Linked DNA regions of Homo sapiens: region 2 is linked to region 1. The links are contacts of gene promoters, found by promoter capture Hi-C in human tissues and cell types (Jung and others, 2019). All regions are on one chromosome and are shown on one strand. Each heading gives the region's core, a stretch centred on a gene start or on the middle of the fragment in contact. The rest is flanking DNA. Distances are from core to core; before and after follow the strand shown. Region 1 holds the start of ZNF91 (zinc finger protein 91). Region 2 has its middle 14 kb from the start of ZNF100.

Region 1 (5,476 bases), core at 1,397-3,896:
GTTCAAGTGATTCTCCTGCCTCAGCCTCCTGAGTAGCTCAGACTACAGGAGCACGCCACCATGCCTGTCTAATTTTTGTATTTTTTAGCAGAGACAGGGTTTCACCATATTTGCCAGGCTGGTCTTGAATTCCTGACCTCATGATCCACCCACCTCAGTCTCCCAAAGTGCTGGGATTACAGGCGTGAGCCACTGCACCCAGCCCAGAATCTTTAATATGTTATAAAAAAGCTAACTATATTTAGATTCGTTTACAGAAAATTAAAAAAAAAATCTTTTATTAAATGTTAGAAGCAAATTTTTGATGCCGCAAAGGAAATAGTACTTGAATGTAAATTTTCTCAGCAAGACAATATTTACTTTTATAGAAGGGTGCATCTTGCGAATGGAGCAATGGCAAGAGCACACCTGAACAAGGGAGGGAAAGGAGTTCTTAGCCCTGATGCAGGTAGCCCCTACTGCTGTGTCATTCCCCTATTGGCTAGGGTTGGACTGCACAGTCTAAGCTAATTCCCATTGGCTATTTTAAAGAGAGGAGGAGTACAAGCCAGAGTGGTGGGGTGAGCAGTTTGGGTGGGAACTACTGTTATGGAACAGGTGACCAAGGTGACTCAGGTCAGAGCAGGTGACCAGGGGTGACTCAGGATGGAGCAGGTGACCAGGGGTACAGATGTAAACTACTGATTAGAACTGGCGGGAAGGTTGTTTACTAAAACTGGAGACAAAAACAACAAAGAAGTTAAACTTTAAAATGGAGAATGAAGAACAGGGAGCTGAATATACTGACATACTGATTCTTTGAAGAGCAATTTAGAACTCACTGTATTTAACATTAAAATATATAAATGTTTTTTATCTACAAATATTAATATAAAACAGTTCAAAATTACTTCCTAGGGATTTCACTAAAAATTAGTTTGTTAAGGGTTAATGTAATTAATAAAAGACCACTAGATGTAAAAAAACTAATTCTTCAAAGAGAATGTTTAAGGCCAGGTGTTGTGGCTCACGCCTTGTAATCCCAACACTTTAGGAGGCCGAGATAGGCAGATCATTTTGAGCTTAGGAGATCGAGACCAGCCTGAGCAACATGGCAAATTCCAGTCACTACTTCAAATAAGGAAATAAACCGGGCATGATCGCGCACGCCTGTAATCCCAGCTACTCCAGAAGCTGAGGCTGGAGAATCGCTTGAATCTGGGAGGTGGAGGTTGCAGTGAGCTGAAATCATGCCACTGCACTTCAGCCTGGGTGACAGAACAAGCTTCTCTCTTGGAAATTAAAAGAAAATAGAGAGAGTATAAACAAAAGCAAAATATGCTTTTGATGAAGAAAGTTAGAAACATTTGTCTGCTTTGAAATTACTTAAAGGTTCCTTCAAATTGAAAAAGTAAAAATAATGTAGATTAAAATGAAATATAAAAAGTTAAACAATGGACCGGCATCATGGCTTACCCATGTAATCCCACTACTTTGGGAGGCTAAGGCAGGTGGATCACCTGAGGCCAGGAGTTCGAGACCAGCCTGGCCAACATGGTGAAACCGCATCTCTACTAAAAATACAAAAAATTAGTCAGGTGTGGTGGTGCACCTGTCATCCCAGCTACTCCAGAGGCTGAGGGAGGAGAATCCCTTGGACCTGAAAGGCAGAGGTTGCAGTGAGCCGAGATCGTGCCGCTGGACTTCAGCCTGGGCCACAGAGCAAGACTCAGTCTCAAAAAAAAAAAATTAAAAAATTATAAGAGATCATAAAATATGTATAAAAATCTAGAGAGGTCAAAAAAATTTTAATGTATTTTTATTTTTATTTTTTGCTGGGGTGCAGTGGCATGATCTCAACTCACTACAACCTCCGCCTCCCGGGTTCAGGCGATTCTCCTGCCTCAGCCTCCGGAGTAGCTGGGATTACAGACGTGTGCCACCATGCTCAGCTAATTTTTATATTTTATTTTTCATTTTTTTGAAATGGAATTTCACTCTTATTGTTCAGTCTGGAATGTATTGGCGCGATCTAGGCTTACTGCAACCTTGGCCTCCCGGGTTCTAGCAATTCTCCTGCCTCAGCCTCCCGAGTAGTTGGGATTACAGGCACGCACCACCATGCTCAATAATTTTGTATTTTTAGTAGAGATGGGGTTTCACCATGTTAGCCAGACTGGTCTCGGACTCCTGACCTCAGGAGATCCACCTGCCTCGGCCTCCCAAAGTGTTGGGATTACAGGTGTGAGCCACGGCGCCCGGCTGAGAGACTTACAATGTTTTATCAAATTAGCTTTATTATTGATAATACACAATAAAGTAAAAGTTGATTTTCTCTGGAACAAAAATTTTATGTATTATTAATATACATCAAATATTTTTGTTCACATTTTGAATACATTGAAAGAGAGCAAAGAAGAGAGAGGATTTTCCCATGCTCTGAGGTGGGCCTGGCTGAGCTGAGGAAGCCCTGCCTGAAAAGGCTGCAGCCTACGCTGTCACTCTTTCTTCATTCAGCCCAGTGTCTGATCACATCTTCTGTCACTCAGGGCCTGAGAAGGCGGGGCCTTAAACGTTATCTAATCAGGGACGCTGGGCTGGGAACTGTCCAATCAGGCACAAAGCTGGAGCGGACAGGGCGGCTTCCGGGATGTGGCTGGGCCTTTGTCTCTCGCTGCCGCCGGAGTTTCCAGGTCTCGACTTCACTGCTCTGTGTCCTCTGCTCCAGGAGGCCCAGCCTGTGTGGCCCTGTGACCTGCAGGTATTGGAGAGCCACAGCTAAGATGCCAGGAACCCCTGGAAGCCTAGAAATGGTGAGACTGCCAGGTGCGACGTCCCGAGAGAGGGAACGGGGCTCGTTGAAACCGGTGGGATGCGGCTGTGGCGAGCCTCAGGCCTTCCTTCAGTCAGCTCCACAATCCGTGCCCGGGTTCTCCTTGCCCAGCTCGGCCTCAGTCCCCTTCAGCGATAAGATGGCGGCTGCGTTGACAGGCGGGCTCCGGGCGTCCTGTCTCTTCCCTGCCCAGTGACTGTGTCCTGGCCTGGAGCCCTCTCTGGGCAGCTCTGCTCCCGCAGCGCCGCGTCTCTCCCAGATTGTGCAGGGATCACGGGAGGGTCGTCAGGGGAGAATCCTGACTGGAGGTGCTGGCTCATGAATAGGAAGCACTTTAGTCCGTGGGGTTCCCAGGGCCTCTTTTTTTCTATTAAAAATTTATGGGCGTCACCGCGAAAAGATTAAATAATTTAATCAAAGAGTGATTCAAACATTGTAGAGCACCCAGCTATGGTTTGTAATTTGTGGTCTATGAAAGGCCTTGAAGGAGATATTTTTATAAGGTTCATGGTAAAGAAAACCAAATTCAGTAATTTGCTAGGTACAGTTATGTAGGTTTTGTTTTGTTTTGTTTTTTGAAAAGGAGTTTTGCTCTCTCGCGCGGGCTGGAGTGCAGTGGCGTGATCTCGGCTCACCGCAACCTCTGCCTTCCGGGTTCAAGCGATTCTCCTGCCTCAGCCCTAGTAGCTGGGATTACAGGCGCCTGCCACCACACCAGGCCAATTTTTTTATTTTTCGGAGAGACGGGGTTTCACCTTGTTGGCCAGGCTGGTCTGGAACTCCTGACCTTAGGTGATCCACCCACCTTGGCCTCCGAAAGTGCTGGAATTACAGGCGTGAACCACCGCACCTGGCCTAGTTTCTTAATTTTTACAATCTAGGTGGAAATATCCTTCTTATGTAATCAGAGCTTAATTGGCAGTTTATAGTTGCTTAAGCCTAAATTTTGCTTCTGCCAATGTAGTAATTTACCAAAAAATGCTCTTGAGTTTAGATTTTTATTTTTAGAAGTAGAAATCCGAGGACTAGAGCCACCTCAATCTAATTGCCTGCCACTTAATTTTTCTCACACTCAAAAGGGGACGATTTTTCCCTGAATTTTTTACATGTGTCTCAAGCAGGGCCTCAAGTCCACCCCTCATCCCCTGTTCCTCCAGCCTAACTCTGGCTTGCAGTAAAATACTAAATTTCCAGTTTCGTCTGACATTCCCAAATGCCAATTTCCCCTCCCTAATTCACTTTATCAACTATTTGTCCTGTAGTGTACATTTTGATACCGATTTTAATCATTTTTATTTTTAATTTTTGAGACAGAGCCTTGCTCTGTCACCCAGGCTGGAGTGCAGTGACGCACTAGGCTCACTACAACCTCCGCCTACTGGGCTCAAATGATTCTCCTCTCTCAGTCTCCCAAGTAGCTGGACTTACAGGTGCCCACGACCACGTCTGGCTAATTTTTGTATTTTTAGTACAGACAGGGTTTCACTATGTTGGCCAGGCTGGTCTCGAACTCCTGGCCTCAGCTGGTCTGCCCACTTCGGCCTCCCAAAGAGCTGGGATTACAGACGTGAGCCACCGCATCTGGCCAATTAATTTTTTTTTTGACAAAGCATTTGATGGCACATTTAAAAAGATTTGTTTTTTTTGGTAAATACTCCCTGTGAGAAGAAAGCAAAGAATAATCTCCTGACACTGTATGGTAAAATATCTCTGTGCGTTTTTTTCGTCTATTTTCCCTAGACGCAGCTATCTTACCAGAATGTTTTTGGGTCAGGTTTTCCTTTTGGAAACTGTATAGGGTGATGTGTCTTCAGTCACCCTTCAGTTTTTTCTTGGACCTAGATTTCAGTACTGTATGGGGATAAACCAAGATACCCACCATGGCTATGTGTGCTAGAGTGTCTAGTGAATATCAGCTTCTGGGTCATATTCTCTCATAGGACAACCTGAGGTATTGAGTTTAGCTTCTCAAGTGTGGACGTGGATGCCCTGAGGCTGAGAGGCATTTCCTGGTGCACTTTTTTTTAAAGTTAATTCCTTGAGACATTAATATTGCCTTCACCCAATTCAGCTTTCATTTCTTGGAGACACATTGCTGGCCAGCCAATCAGATACTAGTATTGAGGAGAAAACAAATAATTTCTGCCTCCTGGATTCCTTTAGGGGGCAGAAAAATAGTGCAAGAAAAATAGTAAAAAAATTTCTAGAAAAAAAATACCCAGCACTCCAAAAGACAAAAAACAAAAAAAAACCCAAAAAACCAAAAAACTGACCCCAGTTAGATGGCGTAAGAACTTGCAGAGTATAATGTGCCTGAGGCACTCACTGGGGCATAGTTCAGAGTCTCCTGAGAGGGGGTTATTGAGCACTTAAGTGAGCAGGATGGGATGGGACAATCTCTCAAGTAATTGAATGGCCTGACTTGACACATGAGGAAGACATATCTGTATCTTGAAAAGCTTTGTTCACTTATTTTGACCTAAGGGTTTTTTTTTGTCTTATTTATGAGTCGAAATCTTGCTCTGTCGCCCAGGCTGGTATGCAATGGTGTGATCTCAGCTCACTGCAACCTCTGCCTCCTGGATTCAAACATTCAAGGAATTCTCCTGTCTCAGCTCCCCAGTAGCTGGGATTACAGACGTGCACCACCACTCCCAGCTAATT
Region 2 (5,476 bases), core at 756-3,255, 1.6 Mb after region 1:
AGCTGGGATTACAGTCATGCATCACCAAGCCTGGCTAATTTTTTGTATTTTTAGTAGAAACAAGGTTTCTCCATGTTGGTCAGGCTGGTCTCCAACTCCCGACCTCAGGTGATGCACCTACCTCAGCCCCCCCAAGTGCCGGGATTACAGGTGTGAGCCACCATACTTGGCTGAAATGTTTTTAATAATTTAAAGACACTAGAAATCAAGGTGTTATCCAGGAATATAAATTGTTTAAATTATTTAACCTTTTTGATATATTAACTTAGATGTCAGGGGTTTCTGGAATTCAATTCTAGTAATTTCAGATATTTAACAACTTTATCTGCATCATTAATTTAATTTTACAACTTTATCTGCACCATTAATTTAATTTTTGCAAGTTTGTGACTTGTGATTCTTTTTTGCCAAATAAGTTAATGTCTTCTATATTCTATAATAGAAATAAATTTTAGAGTCATAAAATATGTCTAGAAAAAGGGTCTGTTTCAAATTCTTTCTCACTAGTAGTTTATCAGAAAGTTGTAATTAAGATATCAGTGGGACATCTAGGAAATACTGATGTTACATTTACAGAGAAAGTAAACAAGCAATTGCTCTGGTGGGTTCAGATAATCCCTAAATTATCTAGTTTAATCTGGTGTACTTAAAGATATCCTGGCTGCAGAAAATCTGGTTGAATTTGCATGAGTGTAAGAATGTGAGGATGTGTGTGTGCCTGTTTGTATATACATGTTTGCATAGTGGGAAAGTTTAGAATGAAAATCAAGTTCTGATGCAAAAGAATTAATGTCACAGATATTCATTAAAAAGTAATCTCTCTGTCATTCTGCTATTAGTGAGTATGCATTCTGTCCACACAAGCCTGTTTTTTGCTTTCTGAGGTTGCCGCAGGCCATTTCAGCTTTTCTGATTCAGTTGCTTCTAGTGATTGCAGATATCTTCCACTGCAGAAAATTGCAATTTATTAGTTCCTATTCTGTTTCCTAGACTCATCTACATAGAGAGAGTACTAAAAGATTCAGTTTTAAAAAGTTTTTATGCACATCAAAAATATTATTCCTCTTTTGTAACTCGTTCATGTCTATGTCTATTATTTGCATCAGGTAATGACTCAAACATTTCTCAAAATCTAGGAAGTTTACTATATTTCTCTTAAAGTTGGCTTATTTAGGGACTATAAGGTAATAAAATTCAGTAAGAATAGAGCTAGAACTACTAAAATTAGTCAGGACTATTAGATAATCTATTAAATTCTACGTTAATCTCGAGATAATTATGTATTTCAAATTTTACTCTAAAAAAGTACTGTAGATGGGGCGCGGTGGCTCACACTTGTAATCCCAGCACTTTGGGAGGCCGAGGCAGGCAGATCACGAGGTCAAGAAATCGAGACCATCCTGGCCAACATGGTGAAACCCCATCTCTACTAAAAATACAAAAATTAGCCTGGCACAGTGGTGCATGCCTGTAATCCCAGCTACTGAGGAGGCTGAGGCAGAAGAATCGCTTGAACCCGGCAGACGGAGGTTGCAATGAGCTGAGACCGCACCATTGCACTTCAGCCTGGGCGACAGAGCGAGACTTCGTCTCAAAAATAAATAAATAAATAAAAGCTCAGCAATTATAGGAAATGTATTTCGTATAGACTTAGAAAATTCCCATTTTTGTATGGTCTTGGGTGCCTTATTTTTTTAATTTTTTCCTTTTTTTTTTTTTTTTTTTTTTTTGAGATGGAGTCTCGCTTTGTCGCCCAGGCTGGAGTGCAGTGGTGCGATCTCGGCTCACTACGAGCTCCACCTCCCAGGTTCACAGCATTCTCCTGCCTCAGCCTCCTCAGTAGCTGGGACTACAGGTGCCCACCACCACGCCCGGCTAATTTTTTGTATTTTTAGTAGAGACGGGGTTTCACTGTGTTAGTCAGGATGGTCTCGATCTCCTGACCTCGTGATCCGCCCGCCTCGGCCTCCCAAAGTTCTGCGATTACAGGCGTGAGCCACTGCGCCCGCCCTCTAGTTTTTTTTTTTTTTTTTTTTAATATATATGACTGAAGACTGTGTGTACTTATCTGCCCTTACTGACAGAAAATCAAGAGTGCACATGAAAGCATTCTCTTGAATAAGGAAGGAAGCCTTATTTCTAATCTTCTATAGACTGAATTATGGAAGGTAAGATTAGTGAAACACTCTATGTCCAGAGCACTGAATGTCTTTCTGTCCACTGGCCACAGTAAGTTTGAATAGGTGGAGGTCAATGGTCAACACTAGGAATCAACAGGAATAATGCCAAAAATAAGGGGTCAGCTTATGAGAGATTAGATGACAAAATATGGCTTGAACTGACTCAGCAAGTATTACAAACTTTAGCAACTGATGCCCACTGACACTTAACAATAACACGGACTGGTGGCTGGGCATGGTGGGTCACGCCTGTATCGAACACCTGAGTTCAGGAGTTTGAGACCAGCCTGACCAACACGGAGAAACCCCTAATATACAAAATACTAAAAACACAAAATTAGCCAGGCATGGTGGTGGGCGCCTGTAGTCCCAGCTACTCAGGAGGCTGAGGCAGGAGAATTGCTTGAACCCAGGAGGTGGAGGTTTCGGTGATCCGAGATCAAGCCATTGCACTCCAGCCTGGGCAACAAGAGCAAAACTCCATCTCAAAAAAAAAAAAAGAAAGAAAGAAAGGCCAGGCGCAGTGGCTCACGCCTGTAATCTTAGTACTTTGGGAGGCCGAGGCGGGCAGATCGCCTGAGGTCAGTTCAAGACCAGCCTGACCAATATGGTGAAACTCCGTCTCTACTAAAAATACAAAAATTAGCCATGCATGGTGGCAGGCACCTGTAATCCTAGCTACTCAGGAGGTTGAGGCGGGAGAATCGCTTCAACCCTTGAGGCGGAGATTGCAGTGAGCCAAGGTCGCACCACTGCACTCCAGCCTGGGCGACAGAGCGAAACTCCGTCTCAAAAACAAAAAAAAAAAAAAGAGAAAAAAAAGAAAAGAAAAAAAGAAGGCCTAGTGACTATAAGAATCTTTATATTAGTATTTATTTATTATGTTGTTTATATATTTATTAATTATGTGTATTATGTTGTTTATATTAATTATGTAGTTTATGTTTTTAGCAAGAACATTGAGTCTGCACATGTGTGCACAAGTTCACATTTTAAAACAACAGAGAACATTAAAACAAAAAATCTTTCATTAAAGTGAACCATTCCAACCTCAAAAAAGATTAAGTTAAAACATGAAACCACTCTTTATATCTTGCTTCAAATACCTCATAATTATCACAGAGATTGTAGAGAGCACCTGTTTTGTTTAATAAAATATAAGCATATAAGTTTAAGATAGTCTGGGGCAAAGGTAGCAGACAGTGGGAAAGTCTTCTGGATTTGTTTTTGTTTTCCACATTCTGAAAAAGTCCTATGAAATAGCAAAAAGAAAAAAAAAAAAAAAAAAAGACTTCTTAAGCTATTGCATGCAAACCCAAACCCAACAAGATATTAAAGTCAAGTGATTCCCTATGGATTCACTGAGCGGGGAGAATTTCAGTACCAGTTGTCTAGGTTTCAGATTAAGTCATGGGCTCAGTGAGTGAATTCATGGTATTAGCTCTGTGTGTGTACACAGGATGCTGTCATTGCATCACTGTGAGGACACAGATGGCAGCATCAGTCATATATATATTGGGGCTCTTATAATACTGTTATAACCATGGGTGTGCAAATATTACTTCTAGTTCCTGCTTTGCATACATAGGCTTTTTCTGTATAATGTTCAGAGAAAGAGAGCTTTTTTTTTTTTTTTTTAATTTAAATATTGAGTTTTCTGAACCATTTGTTGGAGAGTCAGTTTTTCTCCCCATTGTTTGGTCATGATAATGGCCATGCAATGCCAAGCTGGAGCTACTGCTTTGTCCATTTCTGGAGCACCCAGTCCGTGAGTGCCTTCAGATTTGCCCCAGTGCCCCTGCCTGAGGTGTGAAATGGTGGCAACTTCTGGCACCTGTTATTGCCTGACCCATGGAGCTCCCAGCCCTGCTGTCCCCTCTGTCCTGGGTATCCTGTGCCTGGAGGTCTGGTCACTCCTGCTTCCACAGCACGCCTCCTATTCTGGCTCCTTCAACTCCCTTCCTCCTAGTTCTCATGGTCGGGCACCTGGCTTCTTAGAGATGCAGAAGCAGCATGGCACCTTGGGTTCTGAACAGGGTGAGCAGATGCAGAAAATGGGGGCAAATAATATTTTGTAATATGTTAGAGAATATTTATTAAATATTAAGCCAACACTTATTTTGTGAAAAAATATTACTTGATTATGGTATGTAATTTTTTTTTTTTTTTGAGACAGAGTCTCACTCTGTTGCCCAGGCTGGAGTGCAATGGCGTGATCTAGGCTCACTGCAACCTCCCCCTCCCGGGTACAAGCCATTCTCTTTCACCAGCCTCCCAAGTTGCTGAGATTACAGGTGCACACCTCCACATTCAGCTAATTTTTGTATTATTATTATTATTATTTTTTAGTAGAGACAGGGTTTCACCATGTTGGCTAGGCTGATCTCGAACTCCTGGCCTCAAGTGATCCACCTGCCTCGGCCTCCCAAAGTGCTGGGATTACAGGCCTGAGCCCCAACGCCCGGCCTGCAATCTTTTTTTTTTTTTTTTTTTTTTTTTTTTTTTTTTTTGAGACAGAGTATCTCAGGTGGCTCATGCCTGTAATCCCAGCACTCTGGGAGGCTGAGGTGGGCAGATCACCTGAGGTCAGGAGTTCGAGGACCAGCCTGGCCAATATGGCAAAACCCCGTCTCTACTAAAAATACAAAAATTAGCTGGGCGTGGTCGCGGGCCTCTGTAATCCCAGCTACTTGGGAGGCTGAGGTATGAGACTCACTTGAACCCGGGAGGCAGAGGTTGCAGTGAGCCAAGATCTCACCACAGCACTGCAGCCTGGGTGACAGAGGGAGATTCTGTCACAAACAAACAAACAAATATACAAACAAAAAACAAGAAAAAAAATTACATGGGATAGAAAAGTACATCAACAACTAATAGCTGAAAACTTTAGCAATTGGTAAAACCTTATTATGTTGATCTAAGAAGATTAACAACCTGACAAGGAAAATACAAATTAAAGCACATCTTAGGCATATCATAATCAAACCACTAAAAATCTAAAGATAAAACAATATAAGAAAAAATTATACAAACCTAATATTCTTTTTTTTTTTTTTTTGAGATGGAGTTTTGCTCTTATTGCCCAAGCTGGAGTGCAATGGCACAATCTCGGCTCACCACAACCTCCCTCTCCCGGGTTCAAGCGATTCTCCTGCCTCAGCCTCCAGAGTAGCTGGGATTACAGGCACCCACCACCATGCCTGGCTAATTTTTGTATTTTTCTAGAGACGGAGTTTCACCATGTTGTTGGCCAGGCTGGTCTTGAACTCCCGACCTCAGGTGATCCGGCCGCCTCG

The links. Contacts are between HindIII fragments. The study calls those that stand out against the background at their distance.
Region 2: a contact is called between a fragment that was not itself captured here and the fragment with the promoter of ZNF91 in region 1, in 1 of the 25 tissues and cell types used here (aorta).

Annotation. Positions count from the first base shown.
Region 1 is chr19:23,392,641-23,398,116 of GRCh38, reverse strand. It overlaps ZNF91 (zinc finger protein 91), which reads left to right and starts at 2,646. Exons shown (of 4, transcript NM_003430.4): 1 at 2,646-2,792. The coding sequence starts at 2,763. RefSeq lists an enhancer at 2,376-3,244. The HindIII fragment of the contact is 10,945 bases long and covers 1-5,476 here.
Region 2 is chr19:21,779,268-21,784,743 of GRCh38, reverse strand. No RefSeq gene overlaps it. Among named protein-coding and RNA genes, the nearest start is that of ZNF100, 14 kb to the right of the region's middle. The HindIII fragment of the contact is 6,966 bases long and covers 1-5,476 here.